2 separate regions of the Homo sapiens genome follow, and region 2 is linked to region 1. Evidence: promoter capture Hi-C in human tissues and cell types (Jung and others, 2019). All regions are on one chromosome and are shown on one strand. Each heading gives the region's core, a stretch centred on a gene start or on the middle of the fragment in contact. The rest is flanking DNA. Distances are from core to core; before and after follow the strand shown. Region 1 overlaps CCAR2 (cell cycle and apoptosis regulator 2). Region 2 holds the start of NUDT18 (nudix hydrolase 18).

What was found. Contacts are between HindIII fragments. The study calls those that stand out against the background at their distance.
Region 2: a contact is called between the fragment with the promoter of NUDT18 here and a fragment that was not itself captured in region 1, in 1 of the 25 tissues and cell types used here (dorsolateral prefrontal cortex).

Annotation. Positions count from the first base shown.
Region 1 is chr8:22,611,961-22,616,403 of GRCh38, forward strand. It overlaps CCAR2 (cell cycle and apoptosis regulator 2), which reads left to right. Exons shown (of 21, transcript NM_001393997.1): 8 at 1,057-1,176; 9 at 2,132-2,354; 10 at 2,430-2,543; 11 at 2,878-3,041; 12 at 3,465-3,636; 13 at 3,722-3,952; 14 at 4,052-4,288. Among named protein-coding and RNA genes, the nearest start is that of CCAR2, 9.4 kb to the left of the region's middle. The HindIII fragment of the contact is 7,299 bases long and covers 1-4,443 here.
Region 2 is chr8:22,106,597-22,110,972 of GRCh38, forward strand. It overlaps NUDT18 (nudix hydrolase 18), which reads right to left and starts at 2,823. Exons shown (of 3, transcript NM_024815.4): 1 at 2,543-2,823; 2 at 1,537-1,750; 3 at 282-1,299. The coding sequence starts at 2,704. The coding sequence ends at 704. RefSeq lists enhancers at 623-767, 1,164-1,937, a cis regulatory region at 695 and a silencer at 2,397-3,176. The HindIII fragment of the contact is 26,002 bases long and covers 1-4,376 here.

The sequences.
Region 1 (4,443 bases), core at 1,944-4,443:
GTGAGACAGAGTATCGCTTTGTTGCCCAGGCTGGAGTGGAATGGCGCGATCTCGGCTCACTGCCACCTCCGCCTCCCCGGTTCAAGCGATTCTCCTTGCCTCAGTCTCCCGAGTAGCTGGGATTACAGACGTGTGCAACCACACCTGGCTACTTTTTTGTATTTTTAGTAGAGATAGGGTTTCACCGTGTTGGCCAGGCTGGTCTTGAACTCCCGACCTCAAGTGATCCGCCCACTTCGGCCTCCCTAAGTGCTGGGATAACAGGCGTGAGCCACCGCGCCCAGCCTTGTAACCGTCTCTTCTAATAAAATTTACTTTTTTTTTTTGAGACGGAGTCTTGCTCTGTCACCAGGCTGGAGTGCAGTGGTGCAACCTTGGCTCACTGCAACTTCTACCTTCTGGGTTCAAGCGATTCTCCTGCCTCACCCTCCCAAGTAGCTGGGACTGCAGGCACGCACCACCAGGCCCAGCTAATTTTTGTATTTTTAGTAGAGACGGGGTTTCACCATGTTGGCCAGGATGGTCTCGATCTCTTGACCTCGTGATCTGCCCGCCTTGGCCTCCCAAAGTGCTGGGATCACAGGCGTGAGCCACCGCGCCCGGCCAAATTTACTTTAAAGGACGCATAGCATGGATCCATATATGCGTCTCTTGTTTTTAAAAGAAAAATCATTTTTTTCTCATTTCAAAAAAATCACGTTAACTATAATTAATGAAGTGCAGAAAAATAGAAAATTATTCGTAAGCTTTCCAGAGGCTTCCATCATTAATATTTTATTTCCTTTCAGTCTTCTAAAGTTGTTTTTGCAGTAGCTGAGGCCTACTGTGTATACAATGTTGCAGAGTGTGCTTTTTGCTTAACAGGAATGTTTATTAAAACAGTAAATATCCATTTTAATATCTTTATAACATTCTGTCATATGGCTGTTAGCATGGATTCTTTTTCCATTTATTGAATGTGAGGGATTTCGATTGTTTCCAGTTCTTTTAGTTCAGTTTGTATTGAATACATATAACAATGTGGTTTCTTACTGTTGGTGATGGGTCAACCTCTAGTGATGACTATGACTCCAAGAAACGCAAACAGCGGGCTGGTGGAGAGCCCTGGGGTGCTAAGAAGCCAAGGCATGACCTGCCTCCTTACCGGGTCCACCTCACTCCTTACACTGTGGACAGGTGAGTGGCGAGGCTGAGGTGGGCTGAGTCTTGCTGCTGGTAATAGTTTCTTATGTAAATGAGATGGCGTCTATGCAAGTGCACATGTATGTTCTTACAGCCTTTTCTTACAAAACGAAAAGCACATGGAAACCTGTTGTACATACTGTTTGGTGGTTTGCCTTTTCACTGAATGTACTTTAGATTTTATTTCGTATGAACATTTATTAGATCTAGTTCTTTTTTTTTTTTTTTTTTTTTAGCAACTACACAGTATTCATTGAATGGATGAACATGATTTATTTACCCAGTTCTCCATTTGCACTCTATCCTAAATTTTCTTGGAATGAACATCCTTCTACCTACACCTGTGTGTTTGTTGCGATCAATTTCTAGAAATGGAGCAGCTGGCTCAAAGGCTTTGCTTTAAGCTTCCATAGCTATTGCCAGTTCTCCTGAAGAGGCTGTGCCCCTTCTGCTCTAACCAGTGGGGTGTGGAGACCTTATTTCCCCGTGCCGTTGCCAACACTGTTAGCCGACTTTTTCATCTTTGTCTGTCTAGTTGGTGACACATGATAATGTGGTTTGCATTTCTTTAATTGTAAGTGAGATTGAGCATATTTTCCTGGCCTCTAATTCTTATGTATTTCTCTTAAGAACCTATTGATGTCAATTTTCCGTTTTAGGCTTTTGAACTTTTTGTTACTGATTTGTGAGTTCCTTTATATTAAGGCAATGACCCATTTCTCTGTCATGTGTTATAAGTGTTTTCTTTTTTCCCTTTCCCAGTTTGACTTTTGCCATCTAGAGTTTGTAAATTAAGTGGTCAGATCTGATCTAGCTTCCTTGAGAGGTGCCTTACTTCAAAAGTTCTCAGACTGAAAAAAAATTCGCCCATTTTTTCAAATCTTTGATGGTTTCATTTCGAATGTTTTAGTCTTTGCTCAGTCTGGATTCCCTTGCTGTCTTCCTGTAGCCCCATCTGTGACTTCCTAGAACTCCAGCGCCGTTACCGCAGCCTCCTGGTCCCCTCAGATTTTCTGTCCGTGCATCTGAGTTGGCTATCAGCCTTCCCCCTGAGCCAGCCCTTTTCCCTCCATCATCCAAGCCGGATCCAGGTCTCTTCTGAAAAGGAGGCAGCTCCAGACGCTGGTGCTGAGCCCATCACTGCAGACAGTGACCCCGCTTATAGTTCGAAGGTAAGCTGACAGGCGTCTCTCACTTATCTGATTTCTGGAGGCTGAAGGCAGCTCTGAGTGTCTCCTCCTGCACAGGTACTGCTGCTCTCTTCCCCGGGGTTGGAGGAATTGTATCGTTGTTGCATGCTCTTTGTGGATGACATGGCTGAGCCAAGGGAGACGCCAGAGCATCCTCTGAAGCAGATTAAGGTAAGAGCTGGAGAGCAGGAGGAGATGCATTCACGGGTAATGTGCACAACCTGTCATGTTTTGAGTGTTCGGCTCCTGTTCCTGAATGCATAAAACGAGGCATCTCAGAGCCGAACACCCCTCATTTCACCCAGGAGGAAGGTGCAGCTCAGAGCTGTTACGACTAGTCAGAGAGAGCGAGGTGGCTGGTTCATGTTTGCAGATAGAGACCTCACTGTGTGGTGGACTTCCCCACTTCCGGCTGCCTTCATCCTGATGGGTGGCAGCCTTGCCCTGCAGTGGGAGACCCAGGTAATGTAGTTTTTTGTTTTGTATCCCTGATCTCTTCTTGCAGTTTTTGCTGGGCAGGAAAGAAGAGGAGGCAGTGCTGGTTGGGGGTGAATGGTCTCCTTCCCTGGATGGCCTCGACCCCCAGGCTGACCCGCAGGTGCTGGTGCGTACCGCCATCCGCTGTGCGCAGGCCCAGACTGGCATTGATTTGAGCGGCTGTACCAAGTGGTGAGTGGGCTTCCTGAGCCTCAGCTGCACCAACGCACCAGGTTGGGGAGGTTTTGTTGGGAAGGCCCGGTCCCTGCCCCTTTCTGCTGGTTAGCTCTCTGCCCCCTAGTCCCGTTCCTTCCCCCTCTGGTGCCTCAGGGTAGGGTGGGGTGTATGCCAAAATCTGGCTGAGCCACCAGGCTGCACTTGAGACTCCCTGGAGTTGTCCTTGCACCTTGTAGGGTGCTTGTGTGGTTGCGGCCTCCCCACTGACTGATCATTTCTTGAGGACTTGGTCTGTAGCTTTCCTGTTGTGTCTTCAAAGCTTGGTTCGCAGTGTGTGCTCATTGAGTGCTGACTGGAAACTGAAGCCCTTGCCTGTGAACGTGGTGTCTGCGTGGAGTTGTCACTAAAGAAGTTAGTACCTCCTTTTGCCATGTGCAGGTGGCGCTTTGCCGAGTTTCAGTACCTGCAGCCGGGACCCCCCCGGCGGCTTCAGACAGTGGTGGTGTACCTGCCGGATGTCTGGACCATCATGCCTACTTTGGAGGAGTGGGAGGCCCTGTGCCAGCAGAAAGCTGCAGAGGCAGCTCCCCCAACCCAGGAGGCACAAGGGGTAAGGCTGTGCCTTAGCCAGCAGCGGGGGATATAGGTGGCCTAATCCCGGGACCCAGAGGGTCTCATTTCAGCTGTTGTCACAGGAAACGGAGCCTACTGAACAGGCACCTGATGCCTTGGAGCAAGCAGCAGACACTTCTAGACGGAACGCAGAAACTCCAGAGGCCACCACACAGCAGGAAACGGACACTGATCTCCCAGAGGCCCCTCCACCCCCCCTAGAACCTGCTGTCATCGCACGCCCTGGCTGTGTAAACCTGTCCCTCCATGGGATTGTGGAGGATCGGAGGCCAAAGGAAAGGATCTCTTTTGAGGCAGGTGTCAAGAGTCTTGGGGAGGCTGTGGGCTGGGATTTGTGGGCCTGAAGCAGTCTTTCTTCCTGATGCTCATGGACCCTCCCACCTCCCCATCAGGTGATGGTGCTGGCCGAGCTGTTTCTGGAGATGCTCCAGAGGGATTTTGGCTATAGAGTTTATAAGATGCTACTGAGCCTTCCTGAAAAGGTCGTGTCCCCACCTGAACCTGAGAAGGAGGAGGCGGCCAAGGAAGAAGCCACCAAGGAGGAAGAAGCCATCAAAGAGGAGGTGGTCAAGGAGCCCAAGGATGAGGCACAGAATGAGGGCCCGGCTACAGAGTCAGAGGCCCCGCTGGTGAGTACCCTGCCACCTCGGGCTGTCATAGTGCTTACCGTGACCGCGCACCTTTACCCCGGGCTCTGTTCCGAGCGCTTCCTGTGCCTTAGCTCATTCCCTGCACCCTTGCTCGGCATGGACTGAGGCCGCACAGCTAGTAAGTAGCACACCTA
Region 2 (4,376 bases), core at 1,573-4,072, 510 kb before region 1:
TCCTGTCCCACTTGAAGTTCCTCTGGGGCCGCCCACTGCCCAACCCTTGGAGGGCTCAGAGCTGTGTTTCATTAGGGATGGGTCCCCTCAGAGTCACATCCCGGGCCAGCAGGCCAACTGGAGGGAGCCCCAGGGGCCGTGCTGGACAGCAGACTGGCCCGCACTGTCAGTGCACTGGGAAAGGCATGGGTGCCTGTGGGTAACACGAGGGGAGCAGCAGCTCCTGGACAGTAGTCCCCATCACTTTCTCCCCACAGAGACGTGTAGGCAGGGAGGCAAGGTGAGTAACACCTCTTTACTCAGCAACGTGCTCCTCCCTCGGGGGACCTTCCCCAGTGCCCCTCCATGCTCGAAGGGCCTGGAAGGATCAGAATGCAGGCCTTTCCCAAGGACGGCACAGAACGTGATGAGGAGATGCCACTGGGGGTGCAGAAAGCTCCCCATCCCCCTGGGAAGAGGCGTCAGCGTGCCCTCAGGGTAGTCAGGTCCTGAGCTTTGGACTCCTCGCTTGGTTAAAGGCACTGTCCCTTGTGCAATCTAGAGGAATGCTCCTCAAAGCATCTCTCCTGGGGACCAGGAGAGCCGCCCCTGCTCCCAATGCAACAAGATCCCTGATCGCCAGCCTCTTGCCTCCCTCAGAGGGAGACAAGTCCGCACTGGAGGGAGCACGGCTGCCTAGCTCCCTGTCACCTCCCCCACCTCTCTATCTGTTCACTGGGACAACAGAGGATCCCTGAAGCCGCTGGAGGAGCTGGCTTTGCAGGTCTTCCTCCATCACCTTCCACCAAGAGAAGTTCTCACCCCGAACTTTTGGGGGTTCATCCTGGATCCCTGGGCTCCGAAAAGCCACGGTCACCAGCACATTCAAACAGATGCCATCACTGTGATCTCGGCCCAGGTGCTGCAGTCCAAGCAACCCCTTGATCTCCACCACCAAGTGGTGCAGGGTCAGACACTCCTGCAGCAGCCGCAGGACGGCCATCTTCATGCCACCCCTCTGCTCCATAGGGTCGAGGCCACAGGCAGTGACAGGCAAGTGAGGCATCCCCACTGTGCCCACTAACACCCACACTGTCTGGGCGCTGGTAAAGGTAGCCACGAGCCGCTGGCAGACCAGATCACAGGGTAGCTCTTGGGGCAGAATGAGAGGGTGCCTGGCTTGCTGGCGATACTGGGCGGCTAGTTCAACCAGGTGCAGGATGTCATGGGCTCGCAGCGGAGTGGGCAGGGAGGTCCGTGGGTACCAGGCAGCCTGCAGGGACTCCGCATCGGCCTCCTTGGAAGTCTTGAGAATTCCACCTGGGGGAGATGTGGGGGATGGGGCAGGGAGGGTCTGTGTGGAGAGAAGTGCAGCTCTGGCAGAGTCAACAGACATCCCTGACCCAGGAGAGAGGCCCCCAGCCCAAAGGCTGGAATCTGCCCATGCCAGGCTGTGCCAGCCATAACAGGACTGGCTGTAGAGGGGCTCACCTCACCGAGGAGCTGGGGGAAAGGTGTCAACTGGCCCTGTTCACACTGCCTCCAGGTGGGCCATACCTGTGGGGCGAGCGAGGAACACGAAGCGGACCCAGGAGGGGCCCCGCTCCTCCACGGACAGCAGTGTCTCGGGCTCACAGTGCAGCCCCGCCTCCTCCTTCACCTCCCGCTGCAGCGCCTCCACGATGGTCTCCCCTGGCTCCATTCTCCCCGCAGGCAGGTACCACGACCCCCGGCACTCCCTCTTGGCCTCCTGGATCAGTAGCACCTCATCCTGAGAGGAGAGAGGATCCTCACTTCCTGCCACAGCCTTCCCTCGCCCCGGGACCAGGGGGCATCTCAAACACAGTCGCCCAAGACTCCCCTCTGGGTGGACACTCTCAACCCAGCTAGCGCTCCAGGAGACCTGCCCTCGTGTCGCTGGGGGCTGCAGCCCTCTCCTCTCTGCAATTCGTCTCTCTCTGGATTTAGGAAGACTTCCATTTCAGGAAGGGCTGAGATTCCTGGAAGCCGCTTCAGGGGCTGGAGATGAGGCCCCAGAGTGAGGGTCACCATGTGTCTGTCTGTCTTGGATTGATTTGCGTCTGTACCTGCCACTGTGTATCTCTCGCCTCCAACGGCGTGGTTTACAAACTGTGATGGGTCCTCACACTGGGGTCTGGCTTGAAACACGACCCCCACCTCCGCTCTGTACAACCCCGCCCTATGGCCCTGGCCCCGTCTAGTTGTCATTACATCGCCCACTACAGGCATCAGCACCAAAGGCCTGAAGGTAAGCCGGGATTGAGCCACTGCTATCTGAGGGGCCCTGGGCACTCCGCTAGACTCTGGGGAAGGGAAGGAATGAGGCCTAGTCGGATGAGACAAACAGGCCCCGGGCCTCAGTTTCCTCTTCTGCATATCGGGACGAACGCAGGACACAGATGCGAGTGGGAGTGGGAGTGCTTTGCAAAACTGGGAAGCGCCACGCACGCGGCAGCGCTGGCTGTGGCCGTTGGGTCTTCTGTCCCCACCTGGGCTGGCTGCGCGCTCCCGAGGCCCGGCGGGCCCGGGGGCGGCCGCTCACCTGCTCGCTGAGGAACACGGCCAGCACCACGTAGCACACGTTCTTCCGCAGCCGCACGGGCGCCGGCGGCTCCCCGGCCGGCGCCGAGTCGCAGCTGTGCACGCTGGACCCCTGGCCAGCCAGCACGGAAGCCAGCGCCCCCGCCAGGCCCTCCGAGGCCATCGGGTCCCCCGGGGGGCGGCGGGCCGGATCCTCGCAGACCGACTGAGCCGAGCCGCGGGCTAGAGTGCGCTGCGGAGCCCGCTCCCAGTCCCTGCGGCAGCGGGCCGGGAGCTCACGAGAACGCGGAAGCGCACGCGAACGCGGAAGCGCACGCGAGCTCTGGCCGCTGATAGGCTGCGCGGCGCCGCGGCCTGCCCGGATTGGCCGGCCCGCGGCATTCACCGAGGGGGCGGGGCCGCCCGGGGCCGCCCTGGAACTGGGGGGGCACGGGTCCGGAGCCCAGCGGACCCCGCCCGGCTTCTGCCGCCTGTCAGTCCCGTGCGCTCGGGACGTCTCCCAGCCGCCACCCGCTCGCCAACTCCCCGAGCGCGCACTGGTCTGCAGGAGCTCCGACGGTGACGTCATCTTTCCTGCAGGGCGCGTTGCGCCGCCGGGGTAGGCGACGGTGACGCGACAATCCGGTGACGTCACGGAGGCCCGGGGCCGCCCCCTGGAACCACTGTCCCGCTGTTGCCGTAAACACACAATGGCATTGCCGGAGTTGATCATATCCCAAATACCTTTCTTCTCATTCCACCAAAGAGTTATAAATGTCACATGGCCCGTGGGGTGGGGGACATAAACCCCTGCCTTGAAGGAGATTCTGCAATAGTTGGAGAGATGGACGGAGTCCTAGATGAGGAGTCAGCTGAGGGTTCGAGGCTAAGTGCTAAATGCTTGGTTTGGGCAGGAAGAGTGACAGGCGCTGGAAGGAGGGAGGGGGCAGGGCTGGGGATGGCGGGAGGGGTCCGGGGCTGAGAGAAGGCTGCCGTCAGCCGGCCCACCCTCATCAGTGTCCCTCTGCCTACCGCATTTCCCACGCAGCTCAAGGCCCTCTCTGCTGCAGATGGTGCGCCCTGGGAGGGCGGGGGTGGGGCCCTGCTCCTCCATCCTTGTCGTCACCCTCCCACCCAGCGTGCAGGACCTGGCGCGTGGAGAGCAGGGTGGGGGTGGTTGTGGCGAGCGCCTGCTCCTCTCCCAGCTCGGCCTTTCCTCCTTCACCCCACCTCAGCACTGGAAGGCAAAGCCAGCTGGAAGGGATCTGCGAAGCAGGCCGTCTGGCTCCTCACCTGGCAGAGGCCACCCCTTTCCTCTGCCTCTGATAGTTTTGTGCGCCTCCCTGCTAGGGAGACTGTGGCTTGGTGGTGTGGACAAAGCTCAGGACCTGCAGCCAGATGGCCAGCCACTGCTGACTGGCTTGCTCTGTGCTCCTGGGTGAGCTGTGGGCCTCAATTTTCTTATTTGTAGAGCAGGATCATAGCAATTCTTCTTTTACAGGGGTGTTGGGAAGCCACAACAATTGGAGAGGAGCTGTGTGGATTGTCCAGCACTGGGCACCGTCCCCAGGCAGCCCACCAACCCTCAGGGGTGGTCCCTCTCCACCATAGCTCTTGCTACCACACGCAAGGCCTGCCCTCATGAAATGTGACTTTTGTTATCCCCTAGAGTCAGGGTTTCACTGTGTTGCTCAGATTGGAGGTGCAGTGGCGTGATCACAGCTCCTACTGCAGACTTGATCTCTTGGATTCGAGTCATCCTCCTGCCTCAGACTCCTGAGTAGCTGGGACTGCAGGTGTGCACCACCACGCCTGGCTAAATTTTTAATTTTTAATTCTTTGTAGAAACGAGGGTC